Linked DNA regions of Homo sapiens: all the other regions are linked to region 2. Evidence: promoter capture Hi-C in human tissues and cell types (Jung and others, 2019). All regions are on one chromosome and are shown on one strand. Each heading gives the region's core, a stretch centred on a gene start or on the middle of the fragment in contact. The rest is flanking DNA. Distances are from core to core; before and after follow the strand shown. Region 1 holds the start of PSMA6 (proteasome 20S subunit alpha 6). Region 2 holds the start of SNX6 (sorting nexin 6). Region 3 overlaps PRORP (protein only RNase P catalytic subunit).

The links. The method cuts DNA at HindIII sites, captures the fragments that hold promoters and counts their contacts. A contact is called where the count stands out against the background at its distance.
Region 1: a contact is called between the fragment with the promoter of PSMA6 here and the fragment with the promoter of SNX6 in region 2, in 1 of the 25 tissues and cell types used here (mesendoderm cells).
Region 3: a fragment that was not itself captured here is called in contact with the fragment with the promoter of SNX6 in region 2 in 1 of the 25 tissues and cell types used here (adrenal gland).

The regions. Positions count from the first base shown.
Region 1 is chr14:35,290,964-35,293,735 of GRCh38, forward strand. PSMA6 (proteasome 20S subunit alpha 6) reads left to right here and starts at 1,419. Exons shown (of 7, transcript NM_002791.3): 1 at 1,419-1,589. The coding sequence starts at 1,514. All of the region lies in intron 9 of PRORP-PSMA6 (PRORP-PSMA6 readthrough), which reads left to right. RefSeq lists enhancers at 1,120-1,706, 1,423-1,502, 1,623-1,742, 1,823-1,882. The HindIII fragment of the contact is 27,585 bases long and covers 1-2,772 here.
Region 2 is chr14:34,628,823-34,631,750 of GRCh38, forward strand. SNX6 (sorting nexin 6) reads right to left here and starts at 1,326. Exons shown (of 14, transcript NM_152233.4): 1 at 1,289-1,326; 2 at 1,085-1,132. The coding sequence starts at 1,294. RefSeq lists a silencer at 1,080-1,429 and an enhancer at 1,600-1,649. The HindIII fragment of the contact is 20,741 bases long and covers 1-2,928 here.
Region 3 is chr14:35,219,283-35,222,099 of GRCh38, forward strand. The region is part of intron 5 of PRORP (protein only RNase P catalytic subunit); the gene reads left to right. The region is part of intron 5 of PRORP-PSMA6 (PRORP-PSMA6 readthrough); the gene reads left to right. It also overlaps the pseudogene MRPL57P8. Among named protein-coding and RNA genes, the nearest start is that of PSMA6, 72 kb to the right of the region's middle. The HindIII fragment of the contact is 6,682 bases long and covers 1-2,817 here.

The DNA.
Region 1 (2,772 bases), core at 169-2,668, 660 kb after region 2:
CCATTACTCGTATTTCAACCTCAGTTCCACATTTTTTTTTTTTTATTTAGATAGATCTTCCTCTGTCGCCCAGGCTGGAGTGCAGTGGCGTGATCATAGCTCACTGCAACCTGGATCTCCTGGGCTCAAGCCATCCTCCCACCTTAGCCCCCCGAGTAGCTGGGACTACTGGCGCGCGCCACCACGCACAGCTAATTTTATTTTTTGTAGAGACGGGGCCTTCCTATGTTGGCCAGGCTGGAGTTAGGCTTTCTTTCTTTTTTTTTTTTTTTGAGACGGAGTCTCGCTCTGTCGCCCAGGCTGGAGTGCAGTGGCATGATCTCGGCTCACTGCAAGCTCCGCCTCTCCGGTTCACGCCGTTCTCCTGCCTCAGCCTCCCAAGTATATGGGACTACAGGCGCCCGCCACCACGCCTGGCTAATTTTTTTTGTATTTTTTAGTAGAGACGGGGTTTCACCGTGTTAGCCAGGATGGTCTCAATCTCCTGACCTCGTGATCCGCCCGCCTTGGTCTCCCAAAGTGCTGGGATTACAGGCGTGAGCCACCGCGCCCGGCCTCCGCTTTCAAGACTAAAAATTGCCTGGGCACTGTGGCTCAAGCCTGTAATCCCAGCACTCTGGGAGGCCGAGGAAGGTGGATCACTTGGGCTCAGGAGTTCGAGAGCTGCCTGACCAACATGGCGAAACCCCGCCTCTACTAAAAATACAAAATTAGCCGGTCCTGGTGGCACACGCCTATAATCCCAGCTACTCGGGAGGATGAGGCAGGAGAATCGCTTGAACTCAGGAGGGGGAGGTTGCAGTCAGCCGAGATCGCGCCATTGCACTCCAGCCTGGGCAACAAGGGCGAAACTCTGTCTCAAAAAAAAAAAAAAAAAAAAAAAAGACTAAAAATTGTCGGGGCTGCTGGCCAAAAGAAGATCTTGCCTGGCTGTCAGAAAATAATGTTCTTTCCAGCGGCTGCTTGAACCCGCTTCCTTCAGTGCCTAAATTTAACGGCTGCAGCTGCAGCTGCAACCTGTTTCCCCCGTAATAGGAATGAAAGTGGAGGATAAAAGAGGTTAGGAAGAAGGCAAGCCAGCAGTCTGACCAGACACAGGATGCATGTAAGAGACTTGTTAATTACACGTTCTATTTAGGTCACACTGATAGGCAAATCGCTATTCTGGGCCCCCAGGAAGCCTTTTCGTCCTTGCTATAGTCAATTCATTCTCCAGATGAAAGCCTGAAAGCGCCACGACCCAAGTTTCACGTCTATCCACTCAAGAGGCCTGCTTGGCGCAGGCGCATACCTTCAAAGGCCTCCCGCCCTCACTCCACCACCCCCTTAGGGGGCGGGGCCTCAGAGCTCAGTGCTCGAACTGGCTCCAGAGCCGTGAGTTCGGCATGCAAGAGCGGAAGAAACGCGGCTGGTACCCCGGAAGCAGTCGCTGCAACTTCCGGGAGGTGCTTGTGTGCCTGGTGCGGGAGCTACGGGGCCCAGGGATTGTGTTTAAAGTAGTGCTTCTACCAACATGTCCCGTGGTTCCAGCGCCGGTTTTGACCGCCACATTACCATTTTTTCACCCGAGGGTCGGCTCTACCAAGTAGGTGAGTGAACCAGGTTCGCCTGTGGGCCACCTGAATTGCCCTGTCATGGTACGTGCCTGGAGCGAGCAGACGCGGCCCGGGTTTAGTCTGGGGCCGAAGCTGGGCTGGAGCTGGGAAGGGAGAACGGCTGAAGCTGGATTGAGCTCTGTGGTGTTTGCACCCCCGTCTGGACGCAGGGATCGGGGGCCTGAAGGCCTGTCTCTGCAGGGCGAGCGGCCACACTGCGTAGACCCAATGGAGAGTTAAGGAAGATAGGGCTGTAATGCCTGACTCCGGCTTCGTGAGGCCCCTTCAGTTATTGTATTCTGTCCTGGCCAGGCACAAGGTCTGTTTCTAAAGGGTAATTGATTCCTTAACGTCTCAACTAAAATGCCTCCTCTCCGTTTTCCTTTGTTTGCAGCATGGACTTCTGTGGTTAATTCCACACAGGCACTCGAAGCCTGCTATATACCAGACACTGCTAGTCCTAGGAGATACAAATGTGAATGTTACACCCTCTTCTATACTGAAGCTCACAGCTTAGAGTGACAGATACGTTAAACAAACGGATAAAAAAAATTAAAAGTGCCAATTTACAAATATCTACAGAGTTCAAGACATCTTTGGGAATCTGATAGAATGAGTGACTCAATTCTAGAGCTGCTCTTGAGATTGGCATCCCCTTTTTACCCACATCTGTTTGAATGCTCCTGTAATTTAAATGCCGATTCTGAGTTGTAGATGAGGTACTGTGTACTAGTTTACTGAAGAACACCTGTAGTGGAAAGAAACTATCAGTTACTCGGAATAGTAATGTATTGCGCTGAAACGGTGTCAAGGTTTAGGTTATGATTATAAGCCAGACCCTTGATCTCTTACCATAGAGAATTTAGTGTCAGGAGGGCTTGATTTACATCTGGTCCGTGATGGTTTTATTTTTGAATGAGTTTAGTGGCTCCGTGTCTTGCACAGTAATATAATCATCTGTGCTTGGAATCATAAGGAGAGAGTTGGTCTGTAAATGAGGTTCTCTTCACCTGTAAATTTTAGAAATAGAGTTAAAGATAACTTGGAATGAAACTGCTCAGTGTATTACTGCATAGTGTATATAATGTAGCAAGAAACATCTTGTTGGATAATTCAGTAGCCCTTTTAATTTATCCCCAATTGAAAAACATGATTAAAGATAGAACAAAGAGATAAC
Region 2 (2,928 bases), core at 76-2,575:
TGAAGGAACCATGGAACCTTGCTGAATGGTAATTATCATATATCAACATTTTCCAAGTGCTCACTTGTACAAGGGACTATAAAGATTACCACCCTTCAGCCAAGGAAAAAGGGGGTGGAGAGTGGGGTGGGAGGGAGGAATCAGAGCCCGGAAGGCTCTTTCTGAAGTAGAATGCAACTAACCTCAGAACACCAAGGGCAGAATGGAGGTTATCAAAGGCCTGGCGGAGTGTGTATGTGGGGGGTGAGTGGGTGGAGCGTCGATGTTGGTCAAAGGGTACATACTTGAAATTTGCTTAGATCTCAAATGTTCTCACACAAAAAAAAATGGTAACTAGGTGAGGTGATGGATATGTCAGGTTGATTTTGGTACTCATTTCACAATGTATTCGTGTATTAAAATATAATGTATACCTTAAGTATATACAATTATCAACAGTATTTGTCAATATACCTCAAAGAAGCTAAGGGGGAATAAAACACCAAGGAAATCCTGCCAAAGACAGGATTTGTTGGATATTAGAAAAAGTAAAGATACCATGGGCTACCTGCACTTTGCATAATCTAGTAGGGCACTGGACAGGAGTTGATTCGGCTACTATAAAAATCCTTGCAAAATGGTAATGTAGACTACACCTGTACTATTTGAGAGAGACAGAAGGGTGGGCGGGAGCAAGTTCGAGATGTCCACACCGGGTGAAAATTGAGGGTGCCGCTGGGAAGGTCCGAGAATGGGTTTTCATGGCCCCAAAGTGTCGAGGGAGGGTGGGGGCGTTCCATCTCCCGCCTCCATTTCCACTTCGCCACCTGCACCCCGCCCCGCGTGGGAGTGGAGGTCCACCAGAAGGCCCGAACAGCGGCGGGGGACAAGAAAGCGGCCGCGGGTCCCCGGGAATCGGAGCCGAGCGGCCCCTAGGGAGGAAGGGCTGCGGGAGGGTGGGGCGCGGTGCAGCGAGGAAACCGAAAGGAGGACTACGGGGAGGGAGTGCCGCGCGGCTGGGGACCCATCCCCGTACCACACCCGGGGACCCAGGATGGGGAAGGAGGGTCCAGGGTCCCGCGAGCGAAAGGAAGGCAGAACTTACTCCGCGGTCCTCTTCTGAGAGGAAGTCCGGGCCGTCGTCCAGGCCTTCCTGTGGGGTCGGCGGGCACGGCGCGCCGGGGAAAAGGATGAGATGGGGGAGACACAAAGGGAGACATTAGTGACAGGCTGGCGCGGTCCCCGCGCCCGCCCCGCGCCCGCTGCCCCCACCGCGCTCCCGGGACTCGGCGCCGCGGAGAACACCCACCATCATGGCTGCTCCGAGGCGAGGGCCGGCGCAGGCGCGCATCTCCCTGCTGCCGGAGGGAGCCGGCGGCCAGGAGCGGGGCGGGGCGGGGCGGAGGCGAAGGGGCGGGGCCTAAGGACGGCCCGCCCCGTCCCCGGCGCTGGTCGCTCGAGTCCGTGAGCGAGGAAGGTTAACAGGGCCTTCTGCCCAAGGTCAAGGCACCGAAGTCGGGAGAGCCTGAAGACCCAGACCTCATGGCTGGGGGCACCTCGCAGCTGGCGGGCTCTGACCAGGGAAGGGCCAAAGGCCACCCAGGGAGCTCTCCAGTTCCCCTGCCCCGAGGGCTCCAGCGAAAAACGATGCAGGCGCCCTCCGGAAGCCATAATACATCATCTGGTCTTTGTATTATGCCACACGATAATTAATCACAATTAATATCATTTTGCCTATGGAAGTTGCTGGAAACAAGGACCTTCACACAGTCGGTAATCAGGGACTATAATCAAGCTTTTACCGCTGGCGAGGTAATAACTACCTCAGAGTTTGGGGCACTAATGGTTGCGAACTATAAAAATGAGCTGTTTTCATTACAAAAATATTCCTTTCCTTTGTTAGAAGAAATTTCCCCACACCTACTCTAACTGTCCAGGTGGTTAGCATCACACGGGATCCACAGGCATTTCAAATAACGGGAGAAAATCATACTTAATCCTAGAATCTACACGTTCCTGAGCTTGCATTCAGTTAAGGAAAGGCATCTTCAGATGTTCAGACCAGAAACCCTTAACCCATTGAAATCCGTACTCTAGGGGCCGGGCGCTGTGGCTCACGTCTCTAATTCCAGCACTTTGGGAGGCCAAGGCGGGCGGATCACCTGAGGTCAGGAGTTTGAGACCATCCTGGCTAACATGGTGAAACCCCGTCTCTACTAAAAATACAAAAATTAGCCGGGCGTGGTGGCGCGTGCCTGTAATCTCAGCTACTTGGGAGGCTGAAGCAAAAGAATCGCTTGAACCTGGAAGGCAGAGGTTGCAGTGAGCCGAGATTGCACCACTGCACTCCAGCCTGGGCAACAGAGCAAGACTCTGTCTCAAAAAAAGAAAGAAATAAATCCTTATCTCCCTTACTCCTCATATCCAACCAAATCCTATGGCTTCTACAATTGATTGTCCTTCATACCTCTTTTTTTTTTTTTTTTGAGACAGAGTCTCGCTCTGTCGCCCAGGCTGGAGTGCAGTGGTGCGATCTCGGCTCACTGTAAGCTCCACCTCCAGGGTTCACGCCATTCTCCTGCCTCAGCCTCCCGAGTAGCTGGGACTACAGGTGTGTGCCACCACACCCGGCTAATTTTTTTGTATTTTTAGTAGGACAGGATTTCACCATGTTAGCCAGGAAGGTCTTGATCTCCTGACCTCATGATCCGCCCGCCTCGACCTCCCAAAGTGCTGGGATTACAGGTGTGAGCCACTGCGCCCAGCCCATACCTCTTTAATTAGTCCAATTTTTCCAGTTCTCACAGCAATTACCATCAACTCTCGTCTACACCTTTGCAATACTCTCCTGACTCCACTATTTTCCATCACTTTATCCTATTTTACACACTGCTGCCAGTTTTCCTCCTAAAACACAGATATTGATGATTATGCTACTACCCTGTTCAG
Region 3 (2,817 bases), core at 161-2,660, 590 kb after region 2:
TGGTGCATGTGGCCGAGCCCCTTAGGACTCTCTGCATGGTGGAAACATGCCCACCTCAGGGTGGGGCCTTCTGCTGCCTTCCTACTCAGATTTTCTAAGCCCATTCTGTAAAATTAATAGCAAGCTAAAGGTAGGTGAGATAGGCCTATGGAGACATTTTTTCTACAAAGGGACATGCAGCATTTATGAAAACTGTTGGCCCACATGTGACAGTGTTTAGGTCCTGAGTACTTGAAAAGTATTTGGTGGCCACTCAAAAAGCATACCTTGCCCCTTACCTGCATGATTTGGATTTGCTGTCATTCTCTAAGTGACCATGACATTTGGGGGTGCCTAATGGCACCCTACATGTTGGACACAGCTTCATGCATTGGTTAGAGATAGGCTGGTACTGAGAAATTTATAACATTGCTAGTTAATTTATACTGGCAAATTCTTGTATGCCTACTTAATATTTGCTTGTATCAAAATACACCTCTCTATTGTCTAGAGAGTAGAGGTGTCAGTTTCTGGAAACACTGCAGAAAAACTTTACTAGCTTTCCATGTGGTAGCTTCCCACATGGACTCTATTTTTTGAATTGTTTGTTTGTTTGTTTTCTGCCAGGCAGGAAATGGCTAGAAAAAAGTTTCTTAAATTTAGAAGGTCTTAAAGTCTACTTGTCTAAATTCCCTGCCGCCATCTTCTCACAACTGCTTTCTCTGTGTGTTGTCTCTTTTTGTCTCAAAAGGTCATTGGATTTAATACCCACATGGGTAGTCTAGGAGGATCTCATCTTGAGTCCTTAACTTGATTGTATTTGAAAAGATCCTTTTCCCAAATAAGGTCACATTCACAAGTTCTGGGTGTTAGGACATAAACATATATTTTTGAAGTTCACCCTTCAACCCATTATACCACCATGTCCCCTATCTCACTTTCCTTTCTACCAGATTCACTTTACAACACTCCAAACAAGGAGTTTCAGGTTTGTAGTCATGACACATTCGTCATTTTATGTCAATATATGCTGTTTATGAACAACTCTAAAGGTTAAAAATTATTCATTCTATTGAGCTAAATCTATTCTGGTATAATATTTGAGAACACATTCTAGATCTCTCCTGCACAGTTAATAGGGGTTAAGAAAGACTAGTCCCATGATTCTCAGGTTGAGGGAGAATAACACATGCACTGCCTCTCCACCATTCTGACACGGCATTATAGGAGGTGTAAGATCCTCTCTAACACCAGCCCCGCAAAACCTCAGACTTAATGAACAGTTCATGACATTGTGAGCCAGTTGTGATGGAAATGTAATGAATCCCCTCCAGGAGGGTTGGGAGCAAACAAAAAAGACTGAGGAACAGCAATTTCAGTCTTCCTCATGATAGCCATTCAGATGAAGACAACTACTATATTTTCCTGAGTCTGTTCTTTTCCAAGATCAACACCTTTAATTTTAATTATTCCCCATGACATGGCTTTTATTCTATTCATTCAGCAAATATTTATTGAGGGCCTAATATGTGCCAGGCAGTCTAGTAGGTATTAGAATGATGCAGGGATGAGTATACTAGAATCCATGTCATCTAAGATTATAATCTGGGGGAGGATGTAAACAAATAAATTGCAAGACACTGTGATAAGTATTTGGATAATGTTTAGTATAGGATCTAAGGGAGCACAAGCAGAGATTCCTAAGCCAGTGTTAAAGACCTGAAGATCAAGAAGAGACTGGGGAGGCAGGACAGATTCACATTCCAGGCAGAGGGAGCAGCCAGTACAAATGCCCACAAGTTGTAGTAGATATTAGCTGGGTTTCTGGCAGCCCAGCATCCTCATCCATCCACTTCCTGTTTTAGAGCCTTGCCTCCCATAGGGGAGAACGCAAGGTGGTTCCAGGCAATTGTGCAGGACTGGGACTAGGGTGAGGAGAGTGAGCCACTTGACTCAGCTGTAACATTTAAGGGGATACCAAAAAACTTATAATTAAGATAAAGAATATTTTAATGCATTGTTTATTAAAATCATAATTGATGCAAAAAAATCCATGATGAATAAAATATCAAAACCTTAAAGAAAGACATGATCAGTATAATTGGTTTTCCCTTTTGCCTCAAGCTCTAATATGGCTTGGTATGGCACTGCTGTTGATTCTGTCTTTCTTTAAATTTTTCTATTGTATTTCAACATGGATTTTTTTTTGGCATTAGTTTTGATTTTTTGAAATATTGTTTGTCTTGATTGGGGAGTTTGTTGGTGCTCCTTTAAATTGTGTGCCAAAAACGAGTGCCTTAGTCACCTCACCCTGGCTCCAGCCCTACAACCAGGACATAAACACAAAATCTATGCTTGGCCAGTTGTGCTGTCTCCTGGGGCTTTGACTCTGGAGCATAAATGTGGTTAGAGACATTTCACAGTGGTGGCAGCAGAAGTTAGTATCCTACTATGACCTGGCCTCCCATGGTCATGCCCCTTTTCTGAGCGGTTGTTCTGGTATTCAAGAACCATATTCTCTTCGTTTTTGAAAATCACAGTCATGTTTGTTTATCTTCAGACTTCTATTCTTCCCTTTCTCCCTTCTTTACAGATAACCAGTAGTGGTTGTATATTAATATATGCAAGCTTTCTTTTTGGTATCTGAGGACAAAATTTATCCAGGTGTAGCAAAATGAATTCATCGGAAGTAACTATTTTTTTCAGTCACTTCACTTGTCTTGTACTTCTTTTCCCATTTAATCTTTCTCCACCATTTCCACCTGAACGTAACCTTGAAGATTTATTTTTAGTTGTCATTTCTTAATATTATATTCACCTCTCCAAACACAAAAATAC